Regions from separate parts of the Homo sapiens genome. Here regions 1 and 2 are each linked to region 3. The links are contacts of gene promoters, found by promoter capture Hi-C in human tissues and cell types (Jung and others, 2019). All regions are on one chromosome and are shown on one strand. Each heading gives the region's core, a stretch centred on a gene start or on the middle of the fragment in contact. The rest is flanking DNA. Distances are from core to core; before and after follow the strand shown.

The links. Contacts are between HindIII fragments. The study calls those that stand out against the background at their distance.
Region 1: a contact is called between a fragment that was not itself captured here and the fragment with the promoter of SLC1A1 in region 3, in 1 of the 25 tissues and cell types used here (lymphoblastoid cells).
Region 2: a fragment that was not itself captured here is called in contact with the fragment with the promoter of SLC1A1 in region 3 in 4 of the 25 tissues and cell types used here (H1 embryonic stem cells, dorsolateral prefrontal cortex, hippocampus and 1 more).

Annotation. Positions count from the first base shown.
Region 1 is chr9:4,438,047-4,442,832 of GRCh38, forward strand. It overlaps a transcript of GLIS3 not described here. Among named protein-coding and RNA genes, the nearest start is that of SLC1A1, 50 kb to the right of the region's middle. The HindIII fragment of the contact is 6,103 bases long and covers 1-4,786 here.
Region 2 is chr9:4,540,896-4,545,663 of GRCh38, forward strand. It overlaps SLC1A1 (solute carrier family 1 member 1), which reads left to right. Exons shown (of 12, transcript NM_004170.6): 2 at 3,672-3,812. Among named protein-coding and RNA genes, the nearest start is that of SLC1A1, 53 kb to the left of the region's middle. The HindIII fragment of the contact is 3,105 bases long and covers 737-3,841 here.
Region 3 is chr9:4,488,327-4,493,068 of GRCh38, forward strand. SLC1A1 (solute carrier family 1 member 1) reads left to right here and starts at 2,142. Exons shown (of 12, transcript NM_004170.6): 1 at 2,142-2,444. The coding sequence starts at 2,354. It also overlaps a transcript of GLIS3 not described here. RefSeq lists an enhancer at 1,740-1,789 and a silencer at 1,940-2,369. The HindIII fragment of the contact is 11,033 bases long and covers 1-4,742 here.

The sequences.
Region 1 (4,786 bases), core at 1,061-3,560, 50 kb before region 3:
TAACTTCCTATGTTTTTCAATGGTCAGCTGTAGTTGAGAAGTTAGGAAATAACCCAAGAAACCTAACTCCAGAACCAGTGCTCTGAACACTTATGCTAAATAAATGGCTTCTTTTGAATTTTGGAAATTTATTTTCAAATAAAATATTTCCCTTCTACAAAAAAGTATAATAATGAGGCTAAAGTAATGAATGTTCAGGTACCCTCATGCCACCCCAATGAATCTTAATGTTTTGTGATATTTTGTTTACATATGTAATATCTAAAGAAAAAATCGCAGATATAGCTAAAATGTTTTAGTAATGAAGTTTATACTAATTAAAAGCAATTAAAGGCAAAATGACAAATAGACTTCATTTGTTCATGTCCCAGAGAAGCTTCCCCACCCCGTGATTATTTTTCTAAGGAGGGTGAGACAAGTCAAAGGGATGATGAGATGGTGGCAGTGTGAAGATTTTCTCACCTGCACTCTCAACCCACATCAGAAGAAATAGCTTATCCTGAATCTGGTGTTTTTCATTACTTTGCATGTTGACATGGTTTGGCTGTGTCCTCACCCAAATCTCACCTTGAATTGTAATAATCCCCACTTGTCAAGGGCAGGGACAGGTGAAGATAATTGAGTCATGCAAGCAGGTTCCCCATGCTGTTCTCATGGTAGTGAATAAGTCTCACAAGATCTGATTGTTCTATAAATGAGAGTTCTGCACAAGCTCTCTCTTGCCTGCCGCCATGTAGGACGTGTCTTGCTTCCCCTTCCCTTTCTGACATAATTGTGAGAACTCCCCAACCACATGGAACTGTGAGTCTATTAAACCTCTTTCCTTTATAAATTACCTAGTCCTAGGTATGTCTTTATTAGCAGCGTGAGAACAGACTAATACACATGTTTTGTATAATCCTACTCTATAAGTCAATTTTCTTCAAATATAGCACTGTTTGACCAACTTTTAAGAATCACAGACATGGGGTTATAATGTGCCATCAAAATATAATGGCCAATGTTGGTTCCTCACCACCTAGCATCTGTTGTCTCTTCAACACGCTTTCATGTTTTACCCCTTTCTCTCTCTGTGCTGCATGCTGAGGGCATTCTTCAGTACTACCTTCCAATTCCCTAATCATCCCTGTAAGTATAAAATTTTTGTATTCCAAAAGCCATAATTTTTTCTATTTTCCAAGATTTCTATTTTTAAAATGTTTATTGAGATATAATTCACGTATCATACAATTCACACACTTAAAATGCACACTCCAATGTTTTTAGTATGTTCACAGAGTTGTGCAGCCATCTCCACGATCAATTTTAGAACGTTTTCCTCATCCAATAAACTCCACAACCATTAGCAGTAATTTCCCCATTTCTCTTCTTCTCCTCCTATCTTCTCCCCAGTACCTCCTGGCCACAGGCACTCACTTGTCTGGTTTCTGTTTCTATATGTTTGCCTATTCTGGGCAAAAATTTTTTCCTCCTGCCTTCTATCTGTGATTGATTATATATCCTTTGACCAACATCTCCTCATCTTCTCTTTCATAACCACCCCAGTTTCTGGTAAACACCATTCTACTCTCTCCTTCTATGAGATCAGCTTGTTTAGATTTCACATGAGAGATTATGCAGTTGTTTTTGGTTTTTGTTCTTTTTGAGACAGAGTCTCACTCTGTTGTCCAGGCTGGAGAGCAGTGGTGTAATTAGTTTTTCATTTTTCATATTTGGGAACCTTCCCAACTCAGGTGATCCTCCTACCTCAGCCTCTCAAACAGCTGGGATTACAGGAACACCCTACCACACCAGGCTAATTTTTGTGGGGTTCTTTTGCAGAGAAAAGGTTTCACCCTGTTGCCCAGGCTGGTCTTGAACTCCTGTGCTCAAGCAATCTGCCTACCTCAGCCTTTCAAAATGCTGGGATTACAGGCATGAGCCACCGTGCCCAGCCTACATGTCTTCTTTTGAGAAGTGTCTATTCAAGTCTTTCGCCCATTTTGTAATAGGTTTGTTTTCTTGCTATTGAGTTGTTTGAGTTCCTTTTATATTTTGGATATCAACCTCTTGTCAGACGTGTAGTTTTCAAATATTTTCTTCCAGTCTATAAGTTGTCTCTTTACTCTGCTAATTGTTTCTTTGCTGTGCAGAAGTTTTTTAGTTTGTTGTAATCCCATTTTTCCAATATTGCTTTTGTTGCCTGTGATTTTGAGGTCTTATCCAAAAAAATATTTGCCCATACCCATGTCATGAAGCATTTCTCCAATGTTTTCTTATAGTAGTTTCATCATTTGGGGTCTTAGACTTAAGTCTGTAATCCATTTTGAGTTCATTTTTTATATAAGGGTCTAGTTCCCTTCTTCTGCCTGTGGATATCCTGTTTTCTCAACACAATTTATGGAAAAGACTGACCTTTCCCAAAATGTGTTCGTAGCACCTTTGATGAATATCATCAGTTGGCTGTAAATTGTGGATTTATTTCTGGGCTCTCTATTCTGTTCCATTAGTTTGTCTGTTTTTATTGGTTATTTTAGCTTTGTTGTATATTTTTAAATCAGGTAGTGTTACACCTTTGTTCAGCTTTGTTCTTTTTGGTCAGAATTGCTTTGACTATTCAAGGTTTCTGTGGTTCCATTCAAATTTTAGGATTTTCTATTTCCATGAAAAATGTCATTGGTATTTTGACAGGGGTTGCATTGATTTTGTAGATCACTTCAGGTAATATGGACATTTTAACTATATTAATTCTTCTAATTCATGCACACAGGATATCTTTTCATTTACTTGTGTCTTCTTCAATTTCTTTCATCAGTTTTTTTGTAGTTTTCATTGTAAAGATCTTTCACTTCCTTGGTTAAATTTATTTCTAGTTATTTTTGGTAGTTATTATAAATAGAACTGTTTTCTTAATTTTTTTTTCAGATAGTTTGCTATTAGCATATAGGAACACTCCTGATTTTTGTGTGTTGATTTTGTATCCTGCAACTTTACTAAATTCATTTATTAGTTCTAACAGCTTTTTGGCACAGTCTTTAGGGTTTTCTGTATGTAAGATCATGTTATCTGCCAACACGGATAATTTTACTTCCTCCTTTCCAATTTGGATACCTTTTATTTTTCTATCTTGCCTAGCTACTCTGGCTAAGACTTCTAGTATTATGCTGAGTAAAAGTGGTAAGAAATGGGCATCTTTGCCTTATCCAAATCTTACCATAAAAGCTTTCAGCTTTTTCTTATTCAATATGATGTTAGTTGTGGGTCTGTCATACATGGCTTTTATTGTGTTGAGGCACATTCCTTCTATACCTAATTTATTGTTAGTTTTTATGATTAAGTGATGTTGAATTTCGTCAAATGCTTTTTCTACATCTTGGTTTTTGTCCTTCATTTTGTTAATGAATCACATTTATTGATTTGCATATATTGAACCATCCTCATTTGCCTGGAGTGGATTCATCTTGATCTCACTTGAAGATGGTAAATAATCTTCTCAAAGTGTTGTTAAATTTGATTTGCTAGTGTTTTGTTGAGGATTTTTGTGTCTAAGTTCATCAGGGATATTGACTAGTAGTTTTCTTTTCCTTTTTCTTTTTTTTGAGACAAGGTCTGGCTCTATCACCCAGGCTGGAATGCAGTCATGTGATCTCGGCTCCCTACAACCTCTGCCTCTCGGGTTCAAGCCATCCTTCCACCTCAACCTCCAAAGTAGCTGGGATTGCAGGTGCTCACCATCAAACCCAGCTCATTTTTGTATTTTTTGTAGAGACGAGGTTTTGCCATTTGCCCAGGCTGTTCTAGAATCCTGGGCTCAAGTGATCTGCCCACCTCGGCCTCCCCAAGTGCTGGCATTACAGGCGTGAGCCACCCACCGCACCTGGCCATCTTTTTTTGTTGTTGTCTTTGTTAGGTTTGGGTATCAAGGTAATGTTGGCTTTAGAGAAAGAGTAAGGAAAAATTTCCTGTTCTTCAGTTTTTTGGAATAGCTTAAGAAGAGCTGGTATTAGTCCTTCTTTAAACGTTTGGTAGAATTCACAGTGAAACTATCAAGTTCCAGGCTTTTCTTAGATGGGAGACTTTTCACTCCTGACTCAATCTCCTTACTCACTATTGGGCTGTTCAAATTTTCTATTTCTTCACAATTCAGTATTGGTAGGTTACATGTGCCCAGGAATTTATCTATTCCTTGTAGATTTTCCAATTTGTTGGTGTATAATTGTTCATAATTGTCTGTTATGATCCTCTGTATTTTTCTGGCATCAGTTGTCATGTCTCCTTTTTCATTTCTAATTTTATTTGTTTGGGTCTTCTCTTTTTCTTTCTTAATCTAGATAAAGGTTTATTGATTTTGTTTATCTTTTTGAAAGTTCTCTGGCTTCTCTTCCCTCCCCACCCCCTAAAGAATTTCAACTGGTAATCATCCAGTGGCAAGTTTACCACCCTGAGTATTCCAGAACTTGGGAGTGAAAACACGATCAGATAATAAGGGAAACACTGCTCTATTTTCCAAAATTTCTAACTCATTCCTTTTCATTTCAGATTTCATTTTTGTTGCTTTTGTTTTATAATTTCTTATTTTTCATAAATTTTATGCCTCCTTTTTTCTCCTTAAATACCTTAAATATATATATTTCAAAGTCTTGGTTAGACTAAGTTAATAAAATAAAATTAATAAATTAATCTTATTTGTTATTAATCCATTTCTTTTTTACCATTAGATTTCTTTACATGTTTACAGTTATTAAAATGAAGGCTTATTTTAAACTGAATGGATTTTGTTTTCATTTTTTTTCTCCCTCTTCGCTTT
Region 2 (4,768 bases), core at 1,039-3,538, 53 kb after region 3:
AATCTAACCCTTGAAAATAGGAGAAGTTAAAGTTATGGCCCAGGTTCCACACCTCACAATTGGTGGAACCAGGCTTGAGCCTGCTTGCCTAATACCAGTGTCCTTCCCAAGCTTCCCAAGCATCTGCTTGAAATTACCTGTGTCTGTGGTGGGAAGGAAGCGCAAGAATGGTGTCCTGTGTCCATTGCTGGGGCTTTGGGGGTCCAGGTACTTAGTTTACTTTTGAGAATTCCTTGTTGGCTCTGCTGAAGTCCTTCCTGCTACACCGTTCAGGGAAATTGTTGATCTTGTCAACCTGAAATAATCAAAAGGATCAGAATCCAGTTTTAAAGAGTTTATTCAAGCAAAAAGCTGGGAATAGCCATCCAAGAATCATGGACTCTAGAGAAATGGGGTCAGTGCTTCGAAGTTAAAAGTTAAGTACTTGCTTCTATACAGCAAACAAAGAAGTTTAGTAGGATTATAATATTTTCTATACAAGCCTGGTTTATGAGTGACAATTTAGTTCGTTTGTTTTCTTTTCCATACAGCTTGTTTTCGTTTCCTTTCCAATTTAAAAGCAAGTATTTAACATTCCATCCTAGTTAGTGTGATAACCATGAAGCCTTTGTGTGAAAGAGGAAAGAGGGAGGCTAGTCTATAATGAAGATCCATACTTAGAGAGAAAGGGTCTTCCCTGGCACCCTTTAGTAATTTATAACACTTTACCAAACAATGTAGGTAAGGAAAAGGCTAATCTATAATCAGAGAAACAAAGGTTACAGCTGCCTATTTATGTGACTCAGGTTCCATAATCACATTCCCTTAAGGCTCAAAATAAAGTTTCAACGGCTGAGATTTTCAATTATTTATTTTCACAATCTTTACCTTTCTTAGTTCTGGGAGTGGCCTTACCAGGTGGGCCTGGCCTGCGTACTCCCAGAAGGGCAGTTATTCCTAGCAGCCTTTGGCTTTGGGAACCTCTCCATAATTCTTAATCCAGCCCAAGGTTCTGACTCTGTTAATGGGTAAAGAAAGGTTATGCCCTATGAGACTCTGACCTCTTCTTGGGACCTGGAAAATCTTCTGGTGATTTTCCTCATCCCGAATCTGCTGTTTCTAAACTGCTTGAGACCAAGATAAAGCACACCAATTTACAAGGCATAACTCCTAGGTGAGGTCATTCACTAGCCATTTCTTGTATTTGAGGGTCTCAGTGTGACATCCCAACTTCATTTCCAGCACTAGATTGGTATTTCTATTCTTCTTTTTAGAAAGGAAAGGAGAGGGGAGGGGAAAAGGAAAGGGAGAGACACGGAGGGAGGGAGGAAGGAAGGAAGGAATATTGGAGTACAATTTGTGGCACTCAATTTCAAGAACAAGCTTGATAGAAAGTTGTAATTGCCAAATACAGTAACCTACTTGGGGTACATGTCACCTTTTATTGCTTTCAAGCTACTGTACCTGGCAACTCTTATTTCTCCCTTTAAAAAAATCCTGTATCTGGCTAAAGGCTGAAAAATAGCAAGTACATATCTTTCTAATGACCCTACATTAATTTAGCATAGAGATAATTAGAGGCACAGTTAATCATTAGTAATATAAGCCCTGAGATTGGGGCACATGGGTTTCTCTTGCTATTCAACAGAGTCCTTGTGTGGCTAGTGTTTGAGTACAGACACATCTTTATTTTTTACATACTGAGCTTTCTTTGACATACAAGCCAAAAATTTACTTGAAGCAACCTGAATAGTATGAGAGAGAATATTTGTTTTTTAAAGTCCTGGGAATTACAGCGTATCCTTAGGGCATAATATAGGTATGTTCATATAGAACAGCTGAACACAGGCAGTTTATAAAGCAGGAAGTGAGCACATCGTACTTTTTAAATTTATTTAAAATACTTTGAATTCTTGGTGTTCTTATCCATTCAAGAGTCTCTAACACTAGGGTTGTAAAATAGAAACCAAATAGCATTGATAATAGAGTTTTGTTTCATCTTTGTCTTAGCTACAATTTGGGAAATGTTTATATGTTTGTTCCAAAAATGATTTAAAATTGTGTATTCACAATGCAGTAGTGTGTAAACACTACTGAATCACCAGAAATGCATCCAGTAGTGCATGCACAAAATAGAGATCAAGGCAAAGGTAGAATAGGGAAATAAAATTAAGCTAAGGATAAGGTTAGTATACAAAATGCATCTTGTGAGGTTCATCTATTTGGTCTACTAGTGGGCATGGGAAGGATGCCTGAATTTAAATGAAAATTCTAGTACTGATTATAATTCACATATTCTTTCATTGCCCTAGAGTTTTTAATTGTGCCCAAATAAGTCTTGGTATTCACAAACTAATTACTTGAGTTTTTAGGTTCACATACCAGTGATATCCTCCTTGAATCTTTCTGCCACTTAGTCATTTTACTTCCAAATATCATGACATCCAACAGAGGCCGATGAAGGAAAAAAGATGCAAAAGTCATCCCATTTATTTTTCTGCCTTAAAATAAGAGTGTGTATATTGGGAGAAGGAAAGGGTAAAGCAGTTAGATGTTATTAGAAATACTTGGAAGAGAATAGAAATAAAAATTTGTGATTTTTAGTTATTAAAGTCATCATTAAATTGTGTTATCCATACAACTGAAGGATTTCAATATGGGCATCTTGTTAAGGAAAAGCTTTCAGAGAATGGTAACATTTCTTAATAGTGAACATGTCCCTACACTCACATAATTATAAGACTTCATGTACAAGGTACTCAAAATCAGAAACTTTGTAAAAAGCCTTTTAATCAGATAAACCTGAATATATCATTATCTAGAAATAACTGAAAAGAGTGCAAAACATTAGAGAACAGTCATTTGATAATATGGTAAATAAATCAATAGGCTATTATATTCCTATTAAAATTATAAAAGTTGCATAAACAGGAAAGATTATACAAATATACCATAAAAAGTACTTATAATAAAAATATGAGAAAAATACAAACTGATATGTAAACTATAAAATATGTAAAATAGCCAAGCATGGTGGTTCACACCTGTAATCCCAGCACTTTCGGAAGTCGAGGTGGGCAGATCACTTGAGGCCAGGAGTTCGAGACCAGCCTGGGCAACCGAATGAAACCCTCTCAAGAAAAAAATACAAAAATTAGCTGGACATGGTGGTGCGCATATAGTCCTAGCTACTCGGGAGGCTGAGGTGGGAGGATCGACTGAGCCTGGAAGGTTGAGGCTGCAGTGAGCCGAGATGGTACCACTGTACTCTAGGCTGGGTGACAGAGTGAGACCCTGTCTCAATAAAAATAATAAAATATGTAAAATATCTCTGCAGGTAGAAAAAGGTGGTGTGTGAATGCAAAAGAGTTATACTGGATTGACTAAGATGATTTTTTTTCTCACAGTATTCTTTGATATTTTGTCATAATAAGTGTAATTGATAGCGAAGAAATGACAACAAAGCTTTCATGTATAGAATACTTTTTACAGATTTACTGAATAATGTGTACTTTCTGTTCACTGTCTTTTAAAATATAATTTCAGTCTAGATTTTACAGACTCATGGGAAATGATCTAAACTATTTTTCTTGCCATTAAAATGTGCATTTGGGAGTATTTTTCCATAGACATAGATACAGGAGAACTCAATAATGTTCCTCTTCCTTCTTTCCAACTCTTGTTTTCCTTAGGCATTACCACAGGAGTCTTGGTTCGAGAACACAGCAACCTCTCAACTCTAGAGAAATTCTACTTTGCTTTTCCTGGAGAAATTCTAATGCGGATGCTGAAACTCATCATTTTGCCATTAATTATATCCAGCATGATTACAGGTACCTTGAGAAAACAGATGTTCTCTATATTAGTCCATTTTCATACTGCTGTAAAGAACTTCCTGAGACTAGGTAATTTATAAAGGAAAGAGGTTTAATTGACTCACAGTTCATCCTGGCTCAGAAGGTCTCAGGAAACTCACAATCATGGCGGAAGGCAAAGGGGAAGCAAGACAACCTCCTTCACAAGGTGGCAGGAAGGAGAAAGGCTGGGCGAAGCAGGAAGAGCCCGTTATAAAACCATAAGATCTCGTGAGAACTCACTCACTATCACGAGAACAGCATGGGAGAAACTGCCACTATGATTCAATTACCTCCACCTGGTCTCTCCCTTGACACCTGGGGATTATGGGGATTACAATTCAAGATGAGATTTGGGTGGGAACACAAAGCCTAACCATGTCATTCTCTATGATTATTTAAAAAGCTTTCACCTAAGTTGTTCTTTTCTAATTACGGGAAAAATTGAAATACATTAGATGTCTCTCTCTCTCTCTCTCTCTCTCTCTCTCCACCTCTCTCCACTTGGAATGTCTATATTTGCTTCTGTGGAAACATTTTACTGTTCTCAACATGGCATTGCTTTGTCATATGCTGTGCCTACAGCTCTGTCCACCACTGCTCAAATCTTCATTTGACCAGCATGTGATGTCTTGGGAGGAAAATGTCATTTTCAAACATATAAACAAAACGTTATCTGGGGCATGGGAAAAAAAAGCATATTTGGTCACTGAAATGTCAGCTAGTGTCCTCAGGAAAAATATAGTTGTCAATTTTGATCATGTTTTCAGCCATTCACTCATTTATTTCCCAACTGCAGCTGTGCTGCCCCCAGCCTCTCAGCAGCTGCCTTCAGGGTCTCTGCACTCCTTACCCACTTTCTACTCAAAGCCAGAACTTGCTATGTGTCTGCCCTGCATATTTGCTGTGGGGACCAGCAGTCAAGTTCTGTGAGA
Region 3 (4,742 bases), core at 892-3,391:
TATAAATATAGATTTATAACATGTGCCATCCCATGCTGTTAAAAACTTCATAAACTTCCTTTATGTAGGCTGCATAAGGTACTGTTGCTTGGCAGTTCCATAATATATTTACCATTCCATTTATGTTGGACATTTGCGTTTTTTCCAGCTGTTTTTTTACTGTGGGACAAATCTGTTCTCTCGCGCACGCTCTCTCTCTTTTTTTTTTATGAGACAGGGTTTCCCTCCGGTCGCCCAGGCAGGAGTGCTGCAGCGTGATCTCGGCTCACCGCAACCTCCACCTCCTGGGTTCAAGTGATTCTCCTGTCTCAGCCTCCCGAATAGCTGGGATTACAGGTGCATGGCCCTAAACCCGGCTAATTTTTGTATTTTTGGTAGACGGGATTTCCCCATGTTGGCCAGGCTGGTCTCGAACTCTTGACCTCAAGTGATCCGCCTGCCTTGGCCTCCCAAATTGCTGGAATTACAGGTGTGAGCCATCGCGCCCGGGACTATTCTCCCTTTCTTGATAGTTTCCCTTCTGACATTTCCTTCCTTCTTTCTTTCTTTTTTCTTTTTTTTTGACAGTCTCGCTCTGTCGCCTAGGCTGGAGCGCAGTGGCTTGATCTCAGCTTACTGCAATCTCCACCTTCCAGGTTCAAGCGATTCTCCTCCCTCAGCCTCCCAAGTAGCTGCGACTACAGGCACGTGCCACCACGCCCGGCTAATTTTTTTGTATTTTTAGCAGAGACGGGGTTTCACTGTGTTAGCCAGGATGGTCTCAATCTCCTGACCTCGTGATCCGCTCGCCTCGGACTCCCAAAGTCCTGAGATTACAGGCAAGAGCCACCGCACCCGGGTCCCCTTCTGACATTTCTTCAGATCTTCCTCGGACACCCAACGACCTTAAAATCCCTCTAACCTTCTTTCTCTCAAAGTTTACTTTCTATAAAGAGCTGATAAACTCATTCATACTAAAGTCTACAGGGTTGTAAATCTTAATCTATTATCGCTTAAAAGATGCTTGTATCAATTTACACCAAAGGGATGAAGCTCTAATTGTGGGGATTTAGTCATCAGAAAATCTAGTAGGGGAAATTCTCCCTACCCACAATCAGAGTAGATTCTACAATAGCAAAAAGGGTTCCAGGCTCACTTAACTTTAGGAACGCTGATAAGAAGACCGCTTACAGCTGCGGAGGTACTGATTTGGTAAAGGGAGGGAAAGAGATTGTATACGTGAGAGTGAAAAAATTGGGTAGAAAAATGGAAGAGCATCAGAAATTCACTTAGCAACACCAAATATATTTGGCACCACTAACCTAGTTTCTCCTGTGTTTGCCTTTCCAATCCGTTGGACCTTAGGGGATGGACCGCCCACTTTCTCCCCAGAGCGGCTCCCGGGTCCGGTTCTCAGTTCTAATCACTGCCCCAAGCCTCCATGCTCCAGGGCCTGTGGTCACAGAGCAAGTCCCAAGGAGCAGAAGTAAAGTTCTAAGAGAAATCACCATCTCCTTGTGCAGGGAACACTCCCAAGCCCAGTGTCCACAGACAAATCACCTCCAGCGACTCGAAGAGGAGAATAATCCCTGTGGGGGCACTGGAGGCTCCGCGTGAAAGTTTCCAAAGCCATGTTCTGCCCCAGGACTCCTTTCTCTCCTCCCAGAAGCTTCAGGCTTTCGCGGCTGCTGGCACATCCCAGCCTGAGTAGCCGAGCAAGAGGGACCCAAGGCAGGATCAGCTTCCCCCGACTTGAAAGGGCACCCGTTCTGCAGGTGCCGGCGCTGGAAATAGCTGGTGTGGAGAACGGAGAGGGAGACGTGCAGGATGAAGTCCGCGCCCAGGAGGGCAGTGGCTCCGCCTCTCTGGGTTAGGGACAGAAGAAAACCCTTAACCCAAAGCCCTAGCATGAGTGAGGCGTGGAAAGCGAGACAGACTCCAGTGGAAGGCTGTGGGGCGGGACTCAGGGTTCCCGGAGAGGCCGCCCCAGCTCCTGCCGCAGCGCTGGGCGCCCTACCACGCCTGCTCCCTAGGGACCCCGGGCGTCCCACGCACGCACCCACCCTCCTTCCCGGGCCTGCCGCTCCTCCCTCCTTCCTCGCTGGTTGGCCCAGGCGCCGCAGAGCGCGGCGGCAGCAGGAGGAGCCGGGCGCGCCTGCCACGCAAAACTACCGGGCTGGCAGGGCGGCGGGCGCGGTGCGCGATCCCGGGTGGCGGCGGCAACGGCGGTGGTGACGGCGGCGACTGCAGCGGCCGGCTCTCACCTCTCCCCTGTGCACCCGCATCTCGCCGCGCCGCCGAGCAGCCAGCAGTCCCCGGGTCGCCCAGCCCACGCGCGCACGGCCGAGCCCAGCGCACAATAGCGGCGACAGCCATGGGGAAACCGGCGAGGAAAGGATGCGAGTGGAAGCGCTTCCTGAAGAATAACTGGGTGTTGCTGTCCACCGTGGCCGCGGTGGTGCTAGGTGAGCGGCGCGGCGGGTGGGCGATGCGCGCACCCTCACGCGCTCTCTGCGCCCAGGCCGCGTGCGGCTGAGGGTGGGCTTGGCGCTGGCGCACTCCATGCAGGGTCCCTCGATGCCCCCTCGGCCTTAGCCTCGGGCCCCCTGCGGGGGCTTTCCCCCAAGCGCTCTAATTACTGCACACCAAGAACAAAGCTCCTCTGGGACTCCCATTTGAGTGCTCCTTGAGCTGCTGGTTCCTGCTCTACCCAAAATGATCAAAGGGGCTTGGGGGTAGAAAGGGAAGCAAGTAGCTCTTGGTTCTGCTCGTTTGAAAACAGGGTTCGATTTTTTTCTTTGTTAATCCCGCACCGTATCTCCCCCTATCACCGCCACCTTCCTCACCCCACACCCCCAGCCTCGCTGCGCGGGCAGAGATTGAGTGTGGATTACAGTTCTCAGTCGAATTGGAAGAGGCACCCTGGCCTCCGGGATGGGCCGGACCCTTAGGGGAGGGAGGCTGAGAACGCTGTCGCCGCTCATCCTGGGCAGTGCGTGGAAAGGTGCCTTCCCACGCGGCGAGCGCCGACTGCCTGCACCCGGGCTCTGAAAAGCTGCCAGATTCGTGCCTGAATTCTGGGATGTGCCACTGTGGCCCGCGGGAGGTCACCGGGGAAGAGAGCTAAGAGAACTCAGCCGTCTCTTCTCCTGCCTTCCTTGCTCTCCACGTTGTTTTTGTATTTAAGATAATGTTTAAGCCATCCTTGCCTGTTTTTAAACAAGGGTGTATTTAAGTGATCCACCCCTCACAGATCACTGGACCAGGTGGATGTCTGAGCCATTGCTCAGAGGTATGAGTTATTCCTATTTAGATTCTGATTTTTTACCAAGGTTGTGTGTTTCTAGCTCCGGCCCGGGGATGCACTTCCTTGGGATTAGCGCCATATCTGTCGCCTTCCCAGTGATAGCTCCTCAGCAGGTGAGGGCTGTTGCACCCTCTGAGGAATGTGGATTCCTCGGCAGGCTCCACCTTCCCCTTGGAAACTGCAGCTGTGTTTGCTGAAAAGGCAAGTGGGGACAGCTTGTTTCCTCCCAACCTCAGGTACCTTCCTCTCCAACTGCTGCTCCTAAATCTCAGAATATATGGTGTTGCTTGCTTCTCCTCCGAACCGCCCCCTCCCCTCAGGGTGGGGATAGGGCATGGAAATGGCCTTTGGAAGTTAATGGGATTCTTGGGGTCAGATTGGATTCTCCAGAACCTTGGGGAAAGGAAAGTCAGGTTTCTAGTAAATAAATAACATCCTGGAATGGCCCTAGCAGAGGCTATTTGTAGGAGGAAAGGAGAGAAGTACAGAAGCAAATCTTGACTATTTCCCCCAAGAAGTGCCAAGTGGTTTTGGAACTTTTTTTTTTCGGTTTTGAACATTTTTAAGGGAAAGTTTATCCTACTCTACCATATTTAAATAGCATACGCTACAAAGAACGACTTGATTTCCTTTAGGCCAAAGAGAAGAGATGGCCTTGTTTGTTTTCCTAGTGATAAGAGTCGAGGATTAATTGTTAAATCTCTTTTTGAAGACTGAGAGATGCCAGGGCAAGGTGGCTCATGCCTATAACCCCAGTTACTCGGGAGGCTGAGGCAGGAGAATTGCTTGAACCCAGAAGGCAGAGGTTGAAGTCAGCCAAGATTGTGCCACTGCACTCCCGCCTGGGTGACAGAGCAAGAATCCACCAAAAAAAAAAAAAAAAAAAGGAAAAGGACTTTTAGAGGGCCAGGCACGGTGACTCACACCTATAATCCCAATATTTTGGGAGGCCAAGGAAGGAGGATTGCTTGAGCCCAGGAGTTGGAGACCAGCCTGGGCAACATGGCAAAATGCCATCTCTACAAAAAAGTACAAAAATTAGCGTGGTGGTGCACATCTGTAGTCCTAGCTACTCAGGAGACTGAGGTGGGAGGATCACCTGAGCCCAGGGAGGTCGAGGCTGCAGTGAGCCGTGATCGTGACTCTGCACTCCAGCCTGGGCAACAAGAATGAGACCTTGTCTAAAAAGAAAAAAAAAAAAGACTTTGCAGGATAAACATTGGCTTGAGTCTCCCTCCTGATTCCCTGTGGAAGTGGAGTTATCCTGCCTTTTCAGCATGGGGCTCTCCAGAGATACTCACTTGCTACCCAAGTGTTGCACACCACTCGTCAGCATGCGATTCACTGGAGACTGGTTTGGAGAAGGTTTTAAGCAATTGTTCCCTGGCCTTTGGAATCAGTTGCGTGAATAAGAAGAAGTACATGCTCATTTTGCAGACATGGCCTTTGGTCTCAG